Regions from separate parts of the Homo sapiens genome. Here regions 1 and 2 are each linked to region 3. The links are contacts of gene promoters, found by promoter capture Hi-C in blood cells and fetal thymus (Javierre and others, 2016). All regions are on one chromosome and are shown on one strand. Each heading gives the region's core, a stretch centred on a gene start or on the middle of the fragment in contact. The rest is flanking DNA. Distances are from core to core; before and after follow the strand shown. Region 1 has its middle 76 kb from the start of BMP7-AS1. Region 2 has its middle 100 kb from the start of BMP7-AS1. Region 3 holds the start of SPO11 (SPO11 initiator of meiotic double strand breaks).

What was found. Contacts are between HindIII fragments. The CHiCAGO score rates a contact against its expected background, and 5 or more counts as called.
Region 1: a fragment that was not itself captured here is called in contact with the fragment with the promoter of SPO11 in region 3 in 1 of 17 cell types (endothelial precursors); the score reaches 5.2 in endothelial precursors.
Region 2: a fragment that was not itself captured here is called in contact with the fragment with the promoter of SPO11 in region 3 in 2 of 17 cell types (M1 macrophages and M0 macrophages); the score reaches 6.3 in M1 macrophages.

What each region holds. Positions count from the first base shown.
Region 1 is chr20:57,136,319-57,139,018 of GRCh38, reverse strand. No RefSeq gene overlaps it. Among named protein-coding and RNA genes, the nearest start is that of BMP7-AS1, 76 kb to the left of the region's middle. The HindIII fragment of the contact is 298 bases long and covers 1,180-1,477 here.
Region 2 is chr20:57,111,850-57,114,549 of GRCh38, reverse strand. No RefSeq gene overlaps it. Among named protein-coding and RNA genes, the nearest start is that of BMP7-AS1, 100 kb to the left of the region's middle. The HindIII fragment of the contact is 6,810 bases long and covers 1-2,700 here.
Region 3 is chr20:57,328,415-57,331,114 of GRCh38, reverse strand. It overlaps SPO11 (SPO11 initiator of meiotic double strand breaks), which reads right to left and starts at 1,312. Exons shown (of 13, transcript NM_012444.3): 1 at 1,117-1,312. The coding sequence starts at 1,247. It overlaps LOC105372687 (a long non-coding RNA gene), which reads left to right and starts at 1,451. Exons shown (of 12, transcript XR_007067670.1): 1 at 1,451-1,694. It also overlaps the pseudogene RPL39P39. The HindIII fragment of the contact is 5,253 bases long and covers 1-2,700 here.

The sequences.
Region 1 (2,700 bases), core at 79-2,578, 190 kb after region 3:
GAGTCGAGATCGCGCCATTGCACTTCAGCCTGGGCGACAAGAGCAAAAATTTCGTCTCAAAAAAAAAAAAAAGAGTTGGGCCTGAAACGAAGTCACACCTGTGAAGCATTTGCACAGCCCCTGGCATGGAAGAAGTGCCAGCTGAACTTAGCTCCCGGGAAATAAAAGTGAAGACGTGCACAGTTCTAAAGCGTGCCGTGTACCCCAAGCCTGAAAGCTCCGCTCCAAGAAGCCGGCAGTCCGTCCTGGGCCTGGGAAGCTGAACAGAAGCCCTCTCCATGAACTCTTCCAATCCTAGTTTACGTGGCACTCGAGGACTCAAAGGAAATTAAGGCCAAACAGGGAAATTGCAGGGGAAGTAACTGCAGTAAAGGAGAATGATATGAAACAGTGGTGAGTCCTCTTTCTTCATGAAGACCGACTCAGGAAAAATAAAAATCTTATGTGTGGCATTCTTTTTCCCATTTAATAATGAAAGTCGTTAAAGTGTGTCCCATAGAAAATATATAATCTTACAACATAGACTACATACTGTTTTGAATAACAGTGCAGGCTCCGAAGCCAGACTGCCTGGGGTCAAATCCTGCCTCTGAAGCAGAGGCTGTGGCGCTTCAGGCAAATGGCTTAACCTCTCTGTGCCTCAGTTTCCTCATCTGTACCTACCTCATGGGGTGGTTGTGAGAATTTCATGCAAAGTTGTTGGGCTGGTGTCTGGCACAGCAAGAGGGCTCCATAAATGCTAGTGTGTATTAGAGATATTATTATACAACAACTATTCCTGAGAAAACATTTCCTATTTTTTTCAGCCACGAAAATGTTAATTTCTGAGCAAATGTCACGAGCACAACAGGGAGACAGCTTTCCTTTGTTGTTGATGTCGCTGTTGTTGTTGTTTTAGAGACAGAGTCTCACTATGTTGCCCAGACTGGTCTCAAACTCCTGGCCTCAAGGATCCTCCTGCCTTGGCTTCCCAAAGTGGTGGGATTATAGGTGTAATCCACTGTGTCCAGCCAGGAGACAGATTTCTGATCCTTCAGTCTGAGATTTGACTTTGTGAATGAAATGGGTCATGGTGATTATAGACCAGGTTTTCTCAATTTGGGCACTATTGACATTTGGGGCTGAATGCTTCTTTGTCTGGCGGGGGGGAGGGCAGTGTCCTGGGTATTATAGGAAGCTTTTAGCAGGATCCCTGGTCTCTATCCACCACCTGCCTCCCCACCCCTCAACTGTGACATCAAAAATGTCTCCAGATATTGCCAAATGTCCCCTGGAAACAAAATATGCATTGGTTGAGAACCACTGCTATAGAAAGACCAATGGAAAAAAGGAGACAGTTATTACATTTTATTATATTTTCTCTGTTTCTAGAGCAGTTTTGAGAAATACTACATTGGCGTGAGTTTTCAAAGATCACATTTTAGAGTGACAGATGATGTCTCAGTTTGAGGGAGTGAAAAGACTTTTGAACTAAGCTTAAAATCCAGGCTGGGCATTGTGGCTCACGCCTGTAATCCCAGCACTTTGGGAGGCCAAGGCTGGTGGATCACTGAGGTCAGGAGTTCGAGACCAGCCTGGCCAATATGGTGAAACCCCTTCTCTACTAAAAATACAAAAATTAGCCAAGTGTGGGGGCATGCACCTGTAATCCCAGCTACTTGGGAGGCTGACGCAGGAGAATGGCTTGAACCTGGGAGGCAGAGGTTGCAGTGAGCTGAGAGTGCACCCCTGCACTCCAGCCTGGGCAGCAGAGTGAGACTCTGTCTCAAAAAATAAAATAAATAAAATAACATAAAATAAAATCCAGTGTTTTTGCCCTGGCCCCGCATGGGTGTATGTGTAACTTGAGGCACATACTTGGTGCCACTCTCCGTCTCCACTCTGTCATCTGTCACCTGGAGACAATCGCAGCAGATCAAATGGCTTCTCCAGAACTTGTGGCCGTCAGCTGAGCCAGTGTTCCCCAAACTTCACTCACCTTCACAATTTTTACCTTCACCAACCAAATGACTGTATTATTCTTTAACATTTTATTTAAATCAACCGTACCCCTTTTTTCTCATTTAAATACTTACTTTAGCCCCGACTTAAGCAATTGTCTTTGTCATGTGTGATATGCTTGCTATGTTTTTAAAATACGTTTAAACATAAATAAATAAAATAAAAATGTTTGTTGGTGTCTCGCCTAAAATCATCTCACGTGCTACCAGGAATGTTCAGAACACCCTTTGTGAAACACCAAAATAAACTCTTACAGGGGAAAATCCTTTGCAATGTAAAAAAAAATTATAGATGCTAGACATGACTTTGATTCACTTGAACCAATACTTGGTAACAGAATTGATGTTCAACTCTCACTGAACATCGCAAGGAGACCAGTTGCTTCTTGTTCTGCTTTCCTGTGGTTCATTCCTCCTCCACTTCCGTCACTTGAATGTGGAGAGGTGACGGGCCTTCTGTGCTTGGTAGGAAGCTGTCTGGTGGCCTAGAAACTCATTTCCCACACTGGAGAGCTGAGCTGGTTTTGATACCCCCCTCTGATGGACCCTGGTTCTCTCCAGAAAACCTCCCATTTGTTTGGGTGGGCATGGCAAATTTGAATAATCCGAGAAATTAAAGGGTGCTCGAGGGAGCCTCCCTCACTGTCAGAGCGGGCAAGGCGCACAGGAGAAGCGGGCTTGCTTTTCCAAGAAGGCGACG
Region 2 (2,700 bases), core at 167-2,666, 220 kb after region 3:
TGTGGTTCTTTCTCATGTAGGATGAAAACCCCTCTTTCCCAGAGCCCCTGGGTCAGGCTGTCATACCTGCTGGGAGAGATTCATGGATTGCAGTGAAGGGATCAGAAACCCCAGAAGCTCCAGGCCAGGAGCAAGCAACTGAGTCAGATGCTAACTCAGTTTGCAGCCAGGCTGATCCTTGCCTTTCAGTGGGTCCTGTGGAGCCACACGTCACCACCATCACCACCACCACCAGTGCCACCACTACCACCATCAACAGCAACCACATAAACATCACCAGGACCACCACCCACAATACAAACAACACTACCACAAACACTAACATCACAAATACCACCACCACCATCAACACCACCAATACTGCCAGGGCCACCCCCATCAACACCACCAATACTGCCAGGGCCACCCCTAGCAATACAAACAACAATACCACAGACGCTAACATCACAAATACCACTACCGACACCAACACTGCTGGTACTGCAAGGGCCACCAGCATCAACACCACCAGTACTGCCAGGGCCACCACCAACACCAACACCAGTACTGCCAGGGCCACCAGCAGCAATACAAACAACAATACCACAAACAGTAACATCACAAGTACCACCACCACCACCAACACCGCCGGTACTGCCAGGGCCACCACCACCAAAAACACCACCATCATGTGTAACTAAAATAAGATTCTATGCCTCCCACTGACTGAATGGATCCTCCTCTTGGCCGAGGACTTTCCAAAGTCAACCCAAAAAATTAGTTTAGGCCATGATGGGCAGGGGGGTCAGACATGCCTCATGAAACCCTTTGGAGTGCAGGCACAGCTGACCAGCATTGACATTAAACCAGAGAGACCTTGAGACTGACAAAACAGGCTCTTTGTAGCGATAAGATACCAAATTCCAACCTGACTCTAGCATAGCATCACATGACAGATAGCAGGCCCTGAAAGAAATCAAAGTATTTTCCCCCAAAATAGATTTCTTTGACATATTTTGAAGTGGCCCTGAAAAGCTGTCTCTTGTGGAGAAGACATAAGAGATGGAGATGGAGATGGAGATGGAGATGGAGACAGTCTACATTCTGCAGAGAATCTTCTTCCCTTTCTAGGTCTTTTCACTGATTCCAGAGAGAATTGACTAGAGGTCTGGCACCTTTTTAGATCTGATAGGGGACATTTACCAACTACTCTCTCTGAAGCCTGCTACCTGGAGCTTCATCTGCAGAGTAAGAGCCTTGGTCCCCACAACCCCTTATCTTAACCCAGACACTCCTTTCTGTTGATTCCAGGTCTCTAGATAGTAACTGAAATCTTTCAACCAATTGCCAATCAGAAAATCTTTGAATGCACCTATGTCCTGGAAGCCTCCCTACCACTTCGAGTTGTCCCACCTTTCCAGACCAATCCAATGTACGCCTTACATGTATTGATAGATGTCTGCCTGTACCTTCTGTCCCCCTCAAATGTACAAAATCAAGCTGTAACCCAACCACCTTGGGCACATGTTCTCAGGACCTCCTGGGGCTGTGTCACAGGCCTTGGTCACTCATACTTGGCTCAGAATAAATCTCCTTAAATATTTTTCAGACTTTGACTTTTTTCATCGACAGTCATCACACTAACCATCACCACCACCACCACCAGTACCAACGGCCATCAGAGCAACAATGCAGCTACAGTGGATAGAGCCTCTACTGCATCCTGGATACAAAGGACTTTTCATGTCTAAATTCCTTTGATTGTCTTTATTTTAAAGACGAGGAAACAGCAGAGGAGATCAGGAACTTGCCCAAGATCATTTAGCAGTGCTAGTGCAGCCGGCGTTCAAGCCCCGGGTTGTCTCTTTAGGAAGGAAAGAGACCTTCACTGCAGAAACCTTGGCCGGCCGTCTTCCTCTTTCGAGGACCATTTACAGGCCACTGAGAGGAGACAAGCTGGCTGAGGAAATGGGCCCAGCTCCCTCTTAACCCCTCACGTGGGCTGCATTCATGGAGGTATGGTGTGGGGAACAAGGGAGGACATGGTGCTGCTGGAGTCCTCATGGCTCATACCACACCTGGAACATGGTGGCCATGCCTTGGCACCAAGGCTTATGGCACCAGTGGGCCAAAGTGGACCCAGAAATGGGCATGACAGTTTTCCTTGGCCTAGTCCCCTGGCTCAGTGAATGATTCCTCAGGCATCCTCGAGGACCACAGAGTTATCCTTGCCTCCTTTCCCTCACCCCTCACAGTGAAGCAATGGCTCCTGGACCCTTGCATCTCAGATATGCCCAAGCTGTAGCCATCCACCTCCAAGCCAGCGCAGCCAGCCTGGTTCTGGTCCCAATCGTCTCTCTCCTGATTACTCCACAGTCTCCTCTCTGGCCTCTTTCTTTCTGGATTTTCCAGATGGGCTTTCTAAAATGGAAATGTGCCCCCATCATGCCCCTGCACAAACCCTCTGGTGGCCCTGAGATAACATTCATCGCATGGCCTGAGGTTGCTGGAGGTCTGGCCATCCGTCTGCCCCTGCAGCCTGGGCCTGCCCCTCCCCGCATCCCCTGCTCCCTGCTGCTTGAACATCCCTGAAGATGTCATGCTGTTTTGCTTCCAGGAATTTCCACACACTATCTCTCTGTAAGGAGCATGGACCAGACTAAATAATAATTGATTGGGCATTTACTATGTACCAAGTGTGATTTTTAAAATTTTACATTT
Region 3 (2,700 bases), core at 63-2,562:
ATAAACACCATGAGCTTATTGTCTAGGAAGAGAAATCAAATGCACTCTAGAAAACGGGCAAAATGTTGAGAGTTTTAATTTCCACAGGAACTTCAGAATTTTTACTGAAAACTTGTGTTTCAGAAAATGAATTTTAAAACATTTAATCTATTCTAATATTGGGAGGTAAAAACTGACCCAAATACTCATTTTTCCTAGTTTGGAGAAAAAAAGTGTTGCAGGATAATACTGTAACCAACTTTAAGATACAATCAGATTCGTCTACATCTGCGATATTAACAAGGGACTTGCCACTCTCCTTTTCCCTCACTCTCCCAAGTTCTCCCTCAAAATAAATTCTTTTGTAAAAATTGGTTTGTTTGTAGGTTTTTCAGATTTTTTGGTGGTTGGTTTGGGCTTAAAAATAAAAGGCTGAAAAACTTTGCTCAACCAAGAAAGCAAGTCGAGGAAACAAAATAAAGTATTTTTAAGTGAAAATGGTCAATAACGTAGTCATGTTTTCTGTGGTTAATTCTAACATGGATAGCTGGAGGGTTCCTGTAATTGATTTTAAATAAATCATTTAAAATATGTACATTCTCTCCACTTGCAAAACAATTAAACATGTTGTCTTATTATAAACCACTTAAAATGTGTTGATGTCCTTGTTAATTCTGAGAAAACCATTCGCTTACTGAGAGAAGACATACAACACTCATTTTCTTTCTAAAAAAAAACCAAAAAATAAAAACCAAAAAAAACCCTTAAAGTTTAACCAAAAATTTTATCCCAAAAAACGTTTAAAAAATACAAAGCTAACTGTACCCCAAACTCCCCAACCTATAAGGATCTTAGGAAACCTTCCAACCCAGCTGCAGGGAGCCTCTGGAACGTTCTAGAAGGGGAACATCCTAGAAGCCACAGAAGGGGGGCTGCCACCTGGCTTTCTTTTTTGAGTTCAAAATAAGGGTTCAAAGCAGGTCACGGGTACTCAGGAAGGATCTTTTTGGGGGTTCCTGGCTGGCCCGCCAAGGGGTGCCTCCTCAGCCTCAACACTAGGAGGCAGCCCGGGGCCAGGAAGAGCGCCCGACTTTTCTACAGAGTGGCTGCGTCGCGCCTCGGCACCAGCTCCTGTACCTGGAGGCCAGGCGGCTTCCCCCAGTTGGGGGCTCCCTGCCACCTCTCCTCAGGGCAGCCAGCAGGGACTCCCTGTGTCGGTCCAAAACGTCGAAGAACGAGGCCTCGGGCCCCATAGGTGCAAAGGCCATGAGGGCAGACGGCTGCCAGAAGCTCCAGAAGCCCCTGTCCTAGGCTGCGCCCTTGGGGCGTGGCTGCGTGCCTTTCCCGCGCTTTCTGAGCGGCCGGCGTGCCCACGCCACACACCCAGAGGCGGGGCTGGACAGGCGTATGCGTAGAGCACGGCGTGGAGTGCGCAAGCGCAGGGCTCTCAGGCGCGGTCCCACCTGTGAGGCCCTGAGGCGGGCGCCTCCCTGAGTGTGGGTCGCGCAGGCATCGGCCCTGCGTGGCTGAGCTGAGAGATGTTTGTGTGGCGTGCTGCGGATATTGGACCTAGAGTCCCTTGAGGTGATTTAATTATTTTGGGGGTTGGCTATTTAGGGACAGCAATATCAGCGATTTTTCATTAAAACACATAATGATGAAGATCCAGCTGTGTGGGATAACAGTTCTCGGCAATGGGTTCAGCTGTGATTGAGGTGAACGCAATCCCTGTCCTTACTAACGTTTCATAGCAGTTGAATGCCTCCAAAGCCCTTTGCACTCAGGTCCCTCTTCTAATTCCCTTAAGAACCCCAGGAAGTTCCTAACGTGTCATCCTAATTTTGCAGGTGCCAGGAAAGGTCAGCTCAGAGCAGGCAGGCCTGGGTTAAAATCCCAGCCCTCGCACTCCGTAGGGCAGACCAATTTGGCAAAGAAAATCCAGGACAACCAGTTAAATTAGAATTTCAGATAAACAGCAAATCCTTTTTTTTTTTTAGAGTAACTACGTCTCGTATAAAGTTTGGGATATACTTTTACTAAAAAGTTATTTTGTAGCCTTGCACAGTGGTACTCACCCGTAGTCCCAGCTACTAGGGAGGCTGAGGCAGGAGGATGGATTTAGAGGCTCCAGGAGTTGAAGGCTGCTGTGCGCTAGGATTGTGCCTGTGAATAGCCACTGTACTCCAGGCTGGGCAACACAGGGCGATCCCTTCTCAAAAAAAAAAAAATAGTTCTTTTTTTTTTTAAGTGAAAGGTCTCACATATTTATTACTGAACCCAGCCAACCAACGCATTCATCACAGATTCAGAGAGAAAAAATATATTCTCAATAAAACATGTACAACTCTCCAGAGAGCGGTGACATTTTCAGCTTGATGTGGTAACATGACTGTGACCTTCAGACAGCATAAATATGTGTGCCCTCTCATGTGCAATTCCTTATAGGCCCAGCTCGGTTCTTCTTCAATGTCTCCTTTTGGAGTTGTACCTGATTTTATTATCAGTTTTCATCCGAATCCACTGGGGACGATTTTGCTTTTGTTTCTTGGCCAGGAATTGCTTAATCCCAAAAGTCTTGTGGGAAAGACATGGCGAGAAGTGGAGTCAAGCACACACCACGATGGCAGAGAAAGGAATGTTATTTCATTGTTTATGTGAAATTCAAACTTAACTGGCATCTTGTATTTTATGTAGCTCCTCTCCCTCTATACCATGTCATCC